Regions from separate parts of the Homo sapiens genome. Here regions 1 and 2 are each linked to region 3. Evidence: promoter capture Hi-C in 16 types of primary human blood cells and fetal thymus (Javierre and others, 2016). All regions are on one chromosome and are shown on one strand. The core of a region is centred on a gene start or on the middle of the fragment in contact, and the rest is flanking DNA. Distances in the headings are between cores, read along the strand shown. Region 1 overlaps TMEM33 (transmembrane protein 33). Region 2 overlaps STIM2 (stromal interaction molecule 2). Region 3 holds the start of ARAP2 (ArfGAP with RhoGAP domain, ankyrin repeat and PH domain 2).

Region 1 (4,412 bases), core at 591-3,090, 5.7 Mb before region 3:
GGAACCAAGTTCTAAGTTTTATGAATTTTATTTAAAGGTCAAATGTGGTTGCTGTGCTGTACTGGACAGCACAGCTATAGACAATCTGCACTAGAGATCCAAAAACAACTGAAACCACCAACTTGAGAATAAATATCGTAGGTGAAAATGGTACAAATTGTGAATAGAGATGGTCTCAAAACCTTTAATTAAAAAAAGTGTAGTACTGAAAATGTAGTTTTATAGCCTGTTTATCAATATTTACAAGCTGAAATATTTTCCATTACCTTTCCACTGGTTTGGTTAAAATGGGTGCTTATAAGACAGCTTTGAAGATGTTTACCAGCACATATTTGTGTTATCTTGATTCACTGCTATCCTTTCCTTTTCAGTCCACTGAAAACTGAATTCTAGATGTACTAATATGATTTAAGGGTATGTGAAGAAAATGGGAATGGAGAAGGAGGCACAAAGAAGCACAGAAAAACAAATATGCTGATTAAAATAACAGATGTCAGGGCAAGAGAATATAAGATAATGTCTGAAATGAATATAGGGACCAGAAAGAAAAAAGGCTAAAACTCAAGAAATCAAGTAAAAATGAATGTTAATTTGCTACTAGAGACTCACTAAGAACGAATGTCTAAAATAAGTTCTATTTTAGAAAGTATTATAAAAAAGACATTGTCTAATAGAGCATAAAAACGCTCTGAACAGAAAATCAGATCATAGAATAATGAAAATGAACTAGTAAGAACATAACAGTCTAAGTACTTTTAAAATATTACTTCGCTTCACCCCCAGAAGGAGTTATTTCCTCTACCAATGAAGAAATCCAAATAAATAACCTGCCTAGTCACACAACTAGTTAATGATGGGCCAGCATTCAAATTCAAGTTCTTTTTACTGTACTTATGAAAATATACAGATTGCTGTAATGCACTCATTGGATTTCTAGCTGAATTCTACATTATTTTAAACTTAAAAATAGATTATCTTAATATTAGTATTTGAGTATCATTTTAGTTTTACTCCAATGCTTGAGATCAGAATGCATAATTTAGTGTATATTAATTTAAGCCTCCATTCCTGAAAACTACAGTAATTCCCTAAAATTTCTCTGCTTCCCCATTTTTCTGCTTCAAACTCTTCTGGCACAAGGGTATCAGAAGAATATTCTGACGATGTCAAAACCATCATTCCCATTCACCTAAAAGATAAATTCCAAACTTCTTACCCTAAAACTCAAGAAGTTTTATAATATAGCTCCAATATACCTTTCTAATCTTAGCTCCAGCAATTAGCCATTCAGAATCTCCATTAGAGTCAAAACAGCTCTACATAAAGTTCCTCAAATATGGCTTGTGCTTCTCGTCTCTCTTGCCCCACCTAAAATGCTTTTCCCTATTCAAAAGCTTTACTCCTCCCACAATCTCAATTTTGTGAAACCTTCCTGGGCTCATCTATCTTCTGGCCCAATGATCTCTCCCTTCTGTGGACTGCAGTACTGATATAATAAAGCAAACATATGGCATTCATTATCTATTGGCTTGTGAATTCTGTATCCTAACCATTGTTTATCTAATTGACACGTGTTTTGTTTCTTCAACTAGGAAAGTTGAGAGTGGAATCTATGTCTTATACATTTTAAAATTTGCTAAGTTTTAGCAGTGCTTTAGAGGTGGCGTAGATAACTGCAGTCTCAGTTTCTAAGAACAAATACAACCACTTCCTCACCAACCCCAGTACATTCTAAGGCCTAGAACTTAAATTTACAAAAACACTGCTTGCTTCTAAAGTCTAACACATTAGCTAAGTAACTCTTAAGAATTGCGAATACTATATATTCACAATACTCTCAACAAATAAAACATGCCTAAAATAATCATCAGCTTACCGACAATATGGGTTTCTTCGAGACGAATATCGAAGGGTAAGAAATCTATAGTATATAAAAGGTTGGAGCAAACTTCCTTGACCACTGAAATAAACAAATACAAGCGTGATAAATATACATTTCAATTCATGTGTATACTCTCAAAACTTAAAAGCAATTCAACTGGAGAATATGTGTATCTTCATTCATCAAATGGTCATAGTGAAATCTATCATGTCTAAATCCAAGTTATCCTTAAAAAAGGATATAAAAGAATGTACATGATTGGTAAAGAGTAAAATGTTGTTTAATTTTTTTATAAATGTATTCTTATCTGTATTACTTTTGAAATTTTTTAAAATACTAAATAAATCAGAAAATGTTAAATAATTCCGTAATTACTAATTGATGAAATCAAGTTGTAAAGCTTCATAAAATATGCAAATGAAAAGTGACTTATTTTATATATATAAAAAGAAACAAACACTCCCCTCCACCAAAAAAATTACACTGGCTCATCAGTAAATCTAAACAGCCTATACTAATTATTGTTCTTGGTTAAAAAACACAATTACAATATCCCAAGAATTATATATATGTTTATGAAATACCAGGTCTGGAATTCTTCCCTAAGAAAAACTATCTGAATTAAGACATTCACTGAAATAACTACAAACAAAATGTGGCAACAACCTAATGTGAACTGTAAGGAAGTAGAATTGAACAACTTATATTATGGTTATTTAATGGATTTAATATGCAACTACCTAGAATCTTGGTTATGAAAATTACATAGCAACTCTGAAAAAAGCAGAATATAAAACTACACATATTATTACAATTGTATTTTTTTAAATTGGAAGAAATATATTAAGATGCCAAATGTGTTTTATTAGGTTTTTTAGCCTTTTCTTCTAAATTGTATCATTTTCATTAAAAAAAATTTACACGATTACGAACTTACCACTAAACAAATGCAACATCCATTTTCCCTAATAATTTGACAAATTTTTATCTTTTTAAAGTGAAAATGTAAGAGACACAACATAGAAAATATAAATAGAAAATATTCACTTAAAAAACAAGTTTCCCATCATCCAAGTTAGCCCCTTCCTCAAACTTATACCACAATCTCGAATATGTCCTTCCAGAAATGTATATATACAAGTGTATATAATGACTAACATTGATAGTGCTCACTTTATAATTCACTAAATCTGTTTAACAACTCTAGGACAGAGATGGTTTATCATTCCCAAAAAACTGAGACAGAAACGTCTATGTCCTTACACACATACACCCCACTAAATATAAATGGAGAACACCCTACACAACTAAGTTTAACTTATTATATCTTGGTGATTATCCCATATCACAACACATAAATTACCGCAATCTTTTTTACAGCTTCAAATATACCATCTAATGCTTGGACTATTATGTAACAAACTCCGTACTAATGAATATTTGGGTGGCTCCAGTCAATTAGAAGAAAAGCCACAATGATCCTTTTACCTGTCTTTGCACACATGTGCAACGCATGTGTAAGATAAACTCAGACAATGCATCAATTTTTAAATACAGAGCTTGAAGCATTACTGGCACAAATGTAACTTGATAAAGCCTCCTAATATTAGACTGTGTGTATACCAGAAAGGGTAGCATATTAAGAATAGCAGTAATGTAAGACTGTTCTTAATTTTATTGTTTAGGTCATATTCAAACTACCTACTTAAGGCATTAACAGCTTTTCCTAATAGGAATTAAGTACCACTTTATAAGCTGATTTTAATTTTTCAAACAAAATTATTTCTCTATTTAAACATTTCTGGTAAATTCTCATCTTTTTTACAGTAATCTTAAAAATTAAGATGGTAAGTTTGTACAAATAAATGTTTAAATTAAACATTTAAGGAGCACAATTGAATTAATGTACCAACGCAGTCAAAACCTGGTGCTCCTAACAAAAAATTCACTATAGTTCCAAAGTGAAGTTTTTGTCTAAGTTTGCATGGCATCTCAGAATTTCATTAAAATTATTTTAATCTGATTTAAGAGGAGCATAAGAAATTATTTTGCTTACTAAACAGAATCTGGAGGTTTCAGGATATAGACATCAATTATACCCATACAAAAAAACTAGTCTCGGTATCTATCTTTTTTTTTTTTTTTGAGAGGGAGTCTTGGTCTGTCGCCAGGCTGGAGCGCAGTGGCACGATCTCGGCTCACTGCAACCTCTGCCTCCAGGGTTCAAGCGATTCTCCTGCCTCAGCCTCCCGAGTAGCTGGGACTACAGGCACACACCACCAGGCCCAGCTAATTTTTGTATTTTTAGTAGAGACGGGGTTTCACCACATTGGCCAGGATGGTCTCGATCTCTTGACCTCATGCTCTGCCAGCTTTGGCTTCCCAAAGTGCTGGGTTTACAGGCTGTGAGCCACCGTGCTCGGCCTGGTATCTACCATTTTAACTTTCATCTAGTTACATGAAACAAATCACAGAACCTGTGATCCTGACCCAAAAGCAGGATTAAGTGACACAAAAACCCGAGAAAAAT
Region 2 (4,471 bases), core at 1,940-4,439, 9.4 Mb after region 3:
ATTTTAATAATCAAGTAGATAGAATAACTCATTCTGCAGATCCCAGCCAGCTTTTTTCCCTAGCCACTTCTGTCATGAACGAAGAGGCCATAGGAAGGAGGAAGGTGGCTCAGCAACATGAACTTCTATGTACCAAGGCCGACCTGGCTACAGGTGCTAATGAGGCCCAATCTGCCAGTTACAGAAACCAATAATGAGTCCCTGATATGGCACCGTTCCCCAGAGTGATCAGCCAACTATCTCATGAAAGGCTGATTATATTGGACCACTGCCATCATGAATGGGGCACTGTTTTGTTCTTATTACAACAGATACTCTAGATATGGATTTCTCTTCCCTGCATGCAAGCATTCTGCCAAACCCACAGAATGCCTTATCCACCATCTAGGTGCTTCACACAGCATTGCTTCTGATCAAGGAACACACTTTACAGCACATGAAGTGTAACAGTGGACCCATACTAATAAAATTCACTGGTCTTACCATGTTCCTCATCATCCTGAAGCAGCTGGCTTAATAGAATGGTAGAATGGATTTTTGAAGACTCAGTTACGTTGTCAGCAAGGTGACAAAAACTTGTGCAATGTTTTCCATGAGGCTATGTATGCTCTAAATCAGCATCCAATGTATGGTGCTATTTCTCCCATGGCCAGGATTCATGGATCCCAGAATCCAGAGAGAGAAATAAGAGTGGGGCCACTCACTATTATCCCTATTGTTTCACTAGCGAAATTTTTGTTGCCTATTCTTTAACCTTATCCTCTGCTGGTCTAGAGGCCTTATTTCCAAAAAGAGGACTGTTTCCACTGGGAGATAGAATGATTCCACTGAACCGACATTAAGACTACCACCTGGCCACTTTGAACTCCTCATGCCTCAGAATGAACAGGCAAAGAAGACCCAGGGTTAGTGTACTGACCAGGGTTGCTGGTTACTAAGAAGAAATTCAACTGCTACCATACAATGGAGGTATGAAAGACTAAGTCCAGAATACGAGAGATCTTGTAATTACTTTCACGCTCTGTGATTAAAAGACTAAGTCCGGAATACAAGAGATCTTGTAATTACTGCCATGCTCTGTGATTAAAGTCAATGGAAAACTACAATAACCCAATTTAAGGACTACTTAAATTGGGTATGCCCAGACCCTTCAGGAACAAAGTTTTGGATCACCCCAACAGGCAAAGAACCACAAAGAGCTAAGGTGCTTGCTAAGGGAAAGGGAAAAATGGAATGGATAGTGCAAGAAGGTAATCATAAACAAAAACCAGCTACGACCATGTGACCAGCCACAGAAAACTGTAACTGTTATGTCTTATTTTGTAACGAATGTATTCAAATATTTAGCAAATATCTTTGTTTTCTTGCTCTTTAATCCCTTTATCATCTGACATAAGATATATTAATAATAGCTAACTTTACATCATGATATTTAAGTTATAGCTTATTAGGGAGAATGAACATTACCCAGGGACTCCGCATCCTCTTCTGGGGAAAGGGTTGGCATGTTTTCAGTTGTTTGAAGGATATTCATATTATGTTAGGCAGAAGTATGACTTTGTTATTGCGTTCATTTGGAGATTAAGTATCATTTAAGAAGATGTGTATGGGCGCCAAGTTGACAAGGATGGACTATGACAGTTTTATGTATCAACTTGTCTAAACTATAGTATCCAGTTATTCAATCAAACACTAACCTGGGTGCTACTGTGATGGTATTTTGTAAACACAGTTAACATCTACAATCAGTTGACTTTAAGCAAAGGAAATTATTCTTGGAAATGTGGGTGGGCCTGATCCAATCAGCAGGAAAGCCTTTTCTGAGAAAGAAATATTCTGCCCCACGACTGCAGCATCATCGCCTGCCCAAGAGTTTCCAATCTGCCAGCCTATCCTATGGATTTTGGATTTGGATTTGGATCTTTTCAATTACCTCAGCCAATTCCTTGAAATAAGTCTCTATGTTTTACCTATGTCTATCTATGTAGATATGTAGATACATGTATAAAACAATTAATTATTTTAAGTTACATCTTTGAGTATTTTAAGTGCAACTAAATAATTGGTAATATAATTACAGATATGCACTATATAAAATTATATTATTAATTTGTAATAATGAACATATACATTCATTCCTTCTGGTTCTATTTCTGTACAGAACCCTAATACAGGGTCTTTTAAAACATTAAGAGAAAAAATAGCCACTCTTTGCTTCAAAGGATACATCTAGAACCCAAAGAAAGTACTGAAAGATTTTAGTTTAATGCAACAAAGAACTTCTCACAAACCAGAACTGCCTACTAATGGAAAAGTTGTTCAGGAGCAATAAGTTCCCAACCACCCAAAGTATCTGAGGAGCTAATGAATGACAGTCTATAAGGGATACACCGGAGAAGTTCCTGTAATTAGCAGACAGTTTGAGCTTTAGGCTTTGTCCACTTCCTTGAGTTCAATCAAAGTCTGTAATTCTGTAACAGCACGGTGTGATCTTAGATTATTAGCAAGATACATCTTAACCCAAGTAGAAAATGAAAGCAACATCAAACAAAACAGTAAAGAAAAAAAGCTCAAATAAATTCTAAGTTTTAAAGGGATCACGGACAAGGCAAGAGGCAAAAAAAAAAAAAAAAAAAAAAAAGTTTAATTATTTGGTTTGGTGCTTATTGTATCTTGTAACATTCAGCAGTTGAACACTACGGGTTGTTCCAATTTCCTAGCTCTTTAAATTATATCCTATAAAGGCATAAGCTTTTATGTCTTTACTTCACAATAAAGTTCATATAACAATGAACTTGATTTTCAGGACAACAGAACAGAAGGGCTTTCACTGTATTTAGCATCCACATATAGCTCCACCTATACCACCTATTACCACCTCCATAGCTAACAAGGGAGCTCTAGCACTTTCTCTCCCCGGACAAAAGCCTACTAATTGGTCTCCCTGCTCTAAGACTAGACCTTCTAGAGTGTCATTTCAGTGAAAGAGCTGAAGTGATCATTTCCAAACATAAATCAAATCATGTCACACTTCTCAAAAACCCTGCAGTAGCTCCCCATCTCAGAGTACATGACATACAATGACAATGTCCTCACATCTTGTAGATGATGTCTACAAGACTGTACATTCTAGCCCAGACAACCTCTCTGATCTATCTATTACTCTCTCCATTGCTTACTCTACACCAGCCCTGTGGTCTCCTGGAAGTTTCTCCAAAAATCCAACAATGGTATCCATCAGGGCCCATGCACATGCCATTCTCTCCACCTGAAGGGTCTCATCCCTCTGTCTCTCCCTTCTCTCTTGTCAAATGTCAACTATGAAGATTTCCCTGACCACCTTAAATAACAGCAAACACACATATACTTTCCCTAACATTCTCTACCTTCTCACCTATTTTATTTTCCTTCATTGCATTTATCATCTCCTGATAAATATTTGTCTACTTGTTAACTGTCTTATCCTCAGTGAAATTAAGCTCATCGTTTTCTTCATTGCTCCAATACCTACAACAATATCTGTAAGTGTTCAATGAGTATATATTGAAATAATATATTAGCCTTAAGCTAAAATTTCAAACAATCTTCTCAGTTATATGAATATGCTCCTACACAGAAAAAGCTTTAAGAAGGAAAAAGTTCATATACTGTCCTAGTTCTCCTTGCATCCTTCTCACTGATTTGGTTTTACAGAGAATATGAAAGTAAATGTTCTGCCCGTCACAGTTCTCCTCTGTTCCACTGAACCTCAAATTATGAGCTCACATAGCCACAACTTCCTTGTTTGTCAAATAAGAGGAACTGGCGCATGGTGATCAGCTTCTTAAAACTCAAGTATCTAAAAATCAGATTTAAAATAAGGTTTATATGTAATTTTCAATAAGCCATAATGGAATGTCTCAGTAATTAGGATAAATCAACACTGCATATTTACATGAATAGACATATACATATATATATATATATATATATATATATATATATATATATATATATATATATAACCTGAGGTGCTAAATTTGGCTTCATTCTCATAATACAACTAGCACTGAATGCTATATTTTCAGTTTTACTGCTCTTATAAACTACATAGCCTGGTAACCAAGGTAAACAATTTGTATATCTGAAAGTTACATTCTGAATTCACCCAGGCAAAACATAAACCTGAAAAAATAGTCAGAAATGAAAACTATGTCACAAATATCACACATTAAAATCCTACATGCTTTAGTTAAAGGAGGATCCTTCATACCATCAAGATTTACAATTCAAGCCTTGATACCCCTATTTTCCAGTCTTAGCAGATACCAAAAAATAAAATGACAGCTGTCCAGTAAATAAGCTGATACAATCATATGCTGATGACTCCATTTATTCACATTCAAAAATAGGGAAGCAAATCTATGGTATTAAAGTAAGGACAGTGGTTAACCTTAGGCAAAGGCACATACTGATTTCAAGAGGACATGAA
Region 3 (4,599 bases), core at 1,919-4,418:
ATGGGTATTAGCCATCATGTTGTAAGAAAAAGTAGAAGGAGGAAAAGGAGGGAGAGAGGAGAGAGTGAGGAGGAGGAGGAGAGGAGGAAGATTTTCACTCTCTCAAATTGTCTCCTCGACAAGTAAAGCAACAAGAGATCACAATAGTAAATACATAGATAGGCACAGACACATCTTTACCTGCTTTTTTACTAAAAATCTGGGAAAAATGTGCAGGAGCTCGTCATTGTGGAATCATTTCAGCCTAGATGAAAATTACTGGGAATATATGTTCCAATGGTCTTGAGATTAAACATATTTTCTTACCTTTTTTTTTTTTTTTTTTGGAGGGGAGGGGATGGAGTTTCAGTCTCATTGTCCAGGCTGGAGTCTGGAGTGCAATGGTGCAATCTCGGCTCACTGCAACCTCCACCTCCCAGGTTCAAGCGATTCTCCTGCCTCAGCCTCCTGAGTAGCTGGGATTACAGGCATGCACCACCATGTCCAGCTAATTTTTTTGTATTTTTAGTAGAGATGGGGTTTCGCCATGTTGGCCAGGCTGGTCTCGAACTCCAGACCTCAGGTTATCTGCCCGCCTCTGCCTCCCAAAGTGCTGAGATTACAGGCCTGAGCCACTGTGCCTGGCCCATACCTTAATCCTTGTAAAGCCAATTTCCCTGTGTACTTTGCTCTCTGAATACCTCACTGTGAAGGTTGCAAAATAAAAAATTTATACCCTAAGAATATAGCCTAAATGTATTCAATGTATTCACTATTTACTACTTAACCTCTTTAAGTTTCAATTAAACCTATATTTATAAAATTGAAAAAAGAATTTTAACTCACACACGTTGTGTATACACAGCATATATGTTAGGTATTTGACTAGAGTCTGGTGACTATCGATCAATTAATAAAAGATAGCTTTTGCCGTATTTCCTCAGACATTTTTATTTTCCTCCATATATTAAGATTCATTAAACCAGAATACATCTTATAACTAATGTATACATTCAATAAGTGAGCATTGTTCTTCTTTATTTCCCAGGGCTATTATGAAGTCATTGTTGTACCTTGTAGCATTTACCTTTATTTCCCCTCAGAAAACATAAATCCAGAGATTGCATTGTATTTGCTAAACACTGTATTTTCAAAATGCCAAACAGTGATTAATAATTTTTAAAGAATAAATGACTGAATAATAATCAAAGAACTAAGATATTTTTGCGAAGAGGGAGAGAGACAATTTCTCAATTAGTTTATAAAATCTACCAAGCGAAGTAACTTGAGGACAAAGCAATGATTGAACCTCCCACACATAAGATAACTGATCTAATAATTTTTATTTATAACCCACCTTGTTTAGAGAAGGACCGAAGATGGCTTACAATGATAAAAATAGAGCCAGGCATGGTGGCTCACGCCTGTAATCTCAGCACTTCTGGAGGCCAACGCAGGCGAATCACTTGAGGCCATGAGTTTCAGACCACCCTGGCCAACATGGTGAAACCCTGCCTCTACTAAAAACACGAAAATTAGCTAGGCGTGGTGGTGCATGCCTGTAATCCCAGCTACTCAGGAGGCTGAGGCGGGAGAATGGCTTGAACCCAGGAGGCGGAGGCTGCAGTGAGCTGAGATCGCGCCACTGCTCTCCACGCTCCAGCCTGGGCGATACAGCGGGGCTCAGTCGAAAACAAAAACAAAAACAAAAAAGAGAGAGATAAAAAAAAAGAGAGAAGTATGTGAGAATTTGGAGAGGGAAAAGGGAAAAAGAACAAAAGAAACACACACACACAGAGAATGAAGCCAGAAAAGAGCCACATAAATAAAATTCCTCCTATAAATGCTATAGGAATCCAGAGAAAAAGTTCCCGTGGTTTGGAAAATGTCAATAAAACTTTCCTGGTGGAAATGAGGTCGGCTATGAGGTATTAAGTTCAAAAGGAACTGGATATTTGGTGTCTCTAGTAAGACAGAGCTGCTTCAGAGTCTCCCCAGGGAAAGACGGTGCTTTGGGCAGGTAGTTAGTGTGGGTGAAGGTGATGACTGAAGAATCCTAAGGGCCCAGGCTTGTGGGAAGCCTCTCTCTTTCCGCACTTCACCAATTATCTCATTTTCATAAGGTCTGCGCTTTCCTTAATTGCTTCACTTCCATCAACAGGAACAGGGGAAAGATAAATACATTTCACCTTTTAATGAAGAGAATTTCAGGTAGTCTGTGGGAGATGTTTATAAAAAAAAAAAAAAAAGCTGGTAGGGGGCAGTGTCTCACGCCTGTAATCCCAGCACTTTGGGAGGCCGAGGCAGGTGGATCACTTGAGGTCAGGAGTTTGAGACCAGCCTGGGCAACAAGGCGAAACTCCGTCTATACCAAAAATACAAAAAAAATTACCTTGGCTGATGGTGCGCGCCTGTAATCCCAGCTACCTGGGAGGCTGACGTGGGAGGATAGCTTGGACCCAGAGGCGGAGGCGCAATGAGCTGAGATTGCCTCACTACACTCCAGCCTGGGTGACAAAGTGAGACCCTGTCTAAAAAAAAAAAAAAAAAGTAGTTGGTCTGTGAACTCACTTGCAAATAACTGGATTTTACGGACGCTTAGATATTTGGAGGTCCACAAGGGTTCTTTGGGATCCCCTATTTTCCTTCGCTGCCTCCTTTGTCAGAGTCCAACTCAAAGGGGAAATGCCCCTCTGGGATCTAACCGCCACAGGTGCAAGAAGGAGCAAATTTACATAGAAGCAGCCTGGGGAAAATAGTGCCCTAGATGAGTCTTCAGTTTGGGAAACGCTGAGCTAACACTTTAAGTACTTGGAAGAGTAATACTAATAATCAGTCGTGGCGAGGTTCCGCCCATTTGACATTCAACCCCCCATGAGTGCGCACAGACAAACCCACTGGCCAGGAGGAGCCAACACAAGGTCCTGGGCATCTCCGTCCCGGGAAGGTGGGTAATGCCCCTGTCGCTCTGGGCTCCAGGGCGCGCCCCCGCAGCTTCCCCAGCGGGGTCTGACGCCTCCGGGCCGAGGTGCGCCAGGTGGCGAGGGTGCCAGGCGCGGCCAAGTCGCGGCGGTCTGAGTCAGTCACCCAACTATGCTGCGGAACCAGGGAGGCCGGCTGGGCCGCCCCCGCCGTTGAGCTCCGGCTTCCCCCGCGCGGGGCGCCTGCTCCCCGCCCCCGCGGGCGGAGAGGAAGCGGCGGCCGAGGCGAGGCGCGGGAGCACCTGAGCAAGGCGCGGGCGCCGGGCTCGGCGTTTCCGGAGCTGAGCGCGGGTCCGCGGCCCGCGCTCCCCGCCTCCAGGTGCGGCGGCCGCGACACGCCGGCCCCACTAACAGCGCCGCCCGCGCGGCCGCCGCCAGGCAGCAGAGGCGACTGCGGACAGCCGGCGGGGACCGGGAAAGAGGAGGCCTGGCGCCTCCGGCAGAGGGGCGAGGACCGAGCGCCCAAGGCTGGGAGAGACGCCGGCGCTGAGCTTCCCAGCGCCGCCTCACCTCGCTTTTCGAACTCCGCGACCCGAGCGCAAGGCGAGTACCCGGGGCCTCGGGAAGGCTGGGCCGGGATGGCCCACGCGGGGGTGGGAGGACCCTGTCTGGAGGGGCTGGGGCTTTTCGACACTTCACCGGGTAAATTTCCTCAGCGCAAAGTGCTCGGCTCTGGTGTCCGCCCCTTGGATTTCGCTCCCGCGTGTGGGCGTCTGAAAGGAAACCAGAAGCCGGTAAGTGATCCAAGAACTCCACTTCTGGGATTTGACCCGGGAGGGTGAGGATCCGGATAGACAGCTGGACACTCCCTCCATTCCTCTCCCCTACCTTTAAATAAGAAGAAGCTGTAGTGAGTTTCAGGCACCAAGTTATTTACTCGGTAGAGATCATGAATTTGCCCGGGTGTCTGTGCTGCCCCGCACCCTGCTTGTTAACCACGTTAAGACGACTGGCCTGTTAATTAACTTTAATTACGATCATTTGGCTTCCACCTGCCTGAACCCGATACCTTACACGGGAACCTGTATGATGTGAGTTTACCAGATTGATCTTTCTTGTTTACTTTTGGAGACAGTTCTCTTGGGAGAAGTGGTGTCCATCCTATTTAATAAAGTAAGTTTTACTTTATCTAATTCTGGCTTGTTTTCTTAAACACCTCCTACCTTGAGGTGATCTGGAGTTATTTTGATTTGGGGAAAGGGTTCGTGGATTATATAGCCTTTGATAATTAGAGGAAAACACAAGAAAATAAGCTAATTTGTGTGGAATAATGACATCTTAGGGTGTTGTAAGTAGGTATCCTGATAGCAAATTCTTTTTTTTTTTTTTTTTTTTTTTGCAAGCTTGTCCTTGAAGTAGGCTGTTCAGTAGAATACAGCCTTCGGTTTAAAAAAAATCAAGAAGTGTATTGAAAATAAGCTATTTTTAAAAGTACATTTAATAGGATGTCATTGTTATTACTCATAATAGTATTGTACTTACAAGCTCAGTATTGATTTATCTGCACTTAAGCACTCTACACCCCCACAGGCCCATGGAACTTTGCCCGTAAGTAATTGGAAGATAAAAAGCAAGCTAACTTTTTTTAAGGAAAAAAAGAGAAATACCTTTAAACTCTTTTTTTTTTAACTCTTATTTA

The links. The method cuts DNA at HindIII sites, captures the fragments that hold promoters and counts their contacts. A CHiCAGO score of 5 or more calls a contact.
Region 1: a fragment that was not itself captured here is called in contact with the fragment with the promoter of ARAP2 in region 3 in 1 of 17 cell types (M0 macrophages); the score reaches 6.1 in M0 macrophages.
Region 2: a contact is called between a fragment that was not itself captured here and the fragment with the promoter of ARAP2 in region 3, in 3 of 17 cell types (non-activated CD4 T cells, total CD8 T cells and total CD4 T cells). The highest score is 10.0, in non-activated CD4 T cells.

Annotation. Positions count from the first base shown.
Region 1 is chr4:41,946,850-41,951,261 of GRCh38, reverse strand. It overlaps TMEM33 (transmembrane protein 33), which reads right to left. Exons shown (of 7, transcript NM_018126.3): 6 at 1,877-1,960. Among named protein-coding and RNA genes, the nearest start is that of TMEM33, 14 kb to the right of the region's middle. The HindIII fragment of the contact is 888 bases long and covers 1,397-2,284 here.
Region 2 is chr4:26,885,354-26,889,824 of GRCh38, reverse strand. The region is part of intron 1 of STIM2 (stromal interaction molecule 2); the gene reads right to left. Among named protein-coding and RNA genes, the nearest start is that of STIM2, 27 kb to the right of the region's middle. The HindIII fragment of the contact is 871 bases long and covers 2,754-3,624 here.
Region 3 is chr4:36,243,083-36,247,681 of GRCh38, reverse strand. It overlaps ARAP2 (ArfGAP with RhoGAP domain, ankyrin repeat and PH domain 2), which reads left to right and starts at 3,168. Exons shown (of 33, transcript NM_015230.4): 1 at 3,168-3,503. It overlaps LOC439933 (a long non-coding RNA gene), which reads right to left and starts at 3,566. Exons shown (of 5, transcript NR_122079.1): 1 at 3,471-3,566; 2 at 2,372-2,510. RefSeq lists a silencer at 2,793-3,372. The HindIII fragment of the contact is 5,605 bases long and covers 1-4,305 here.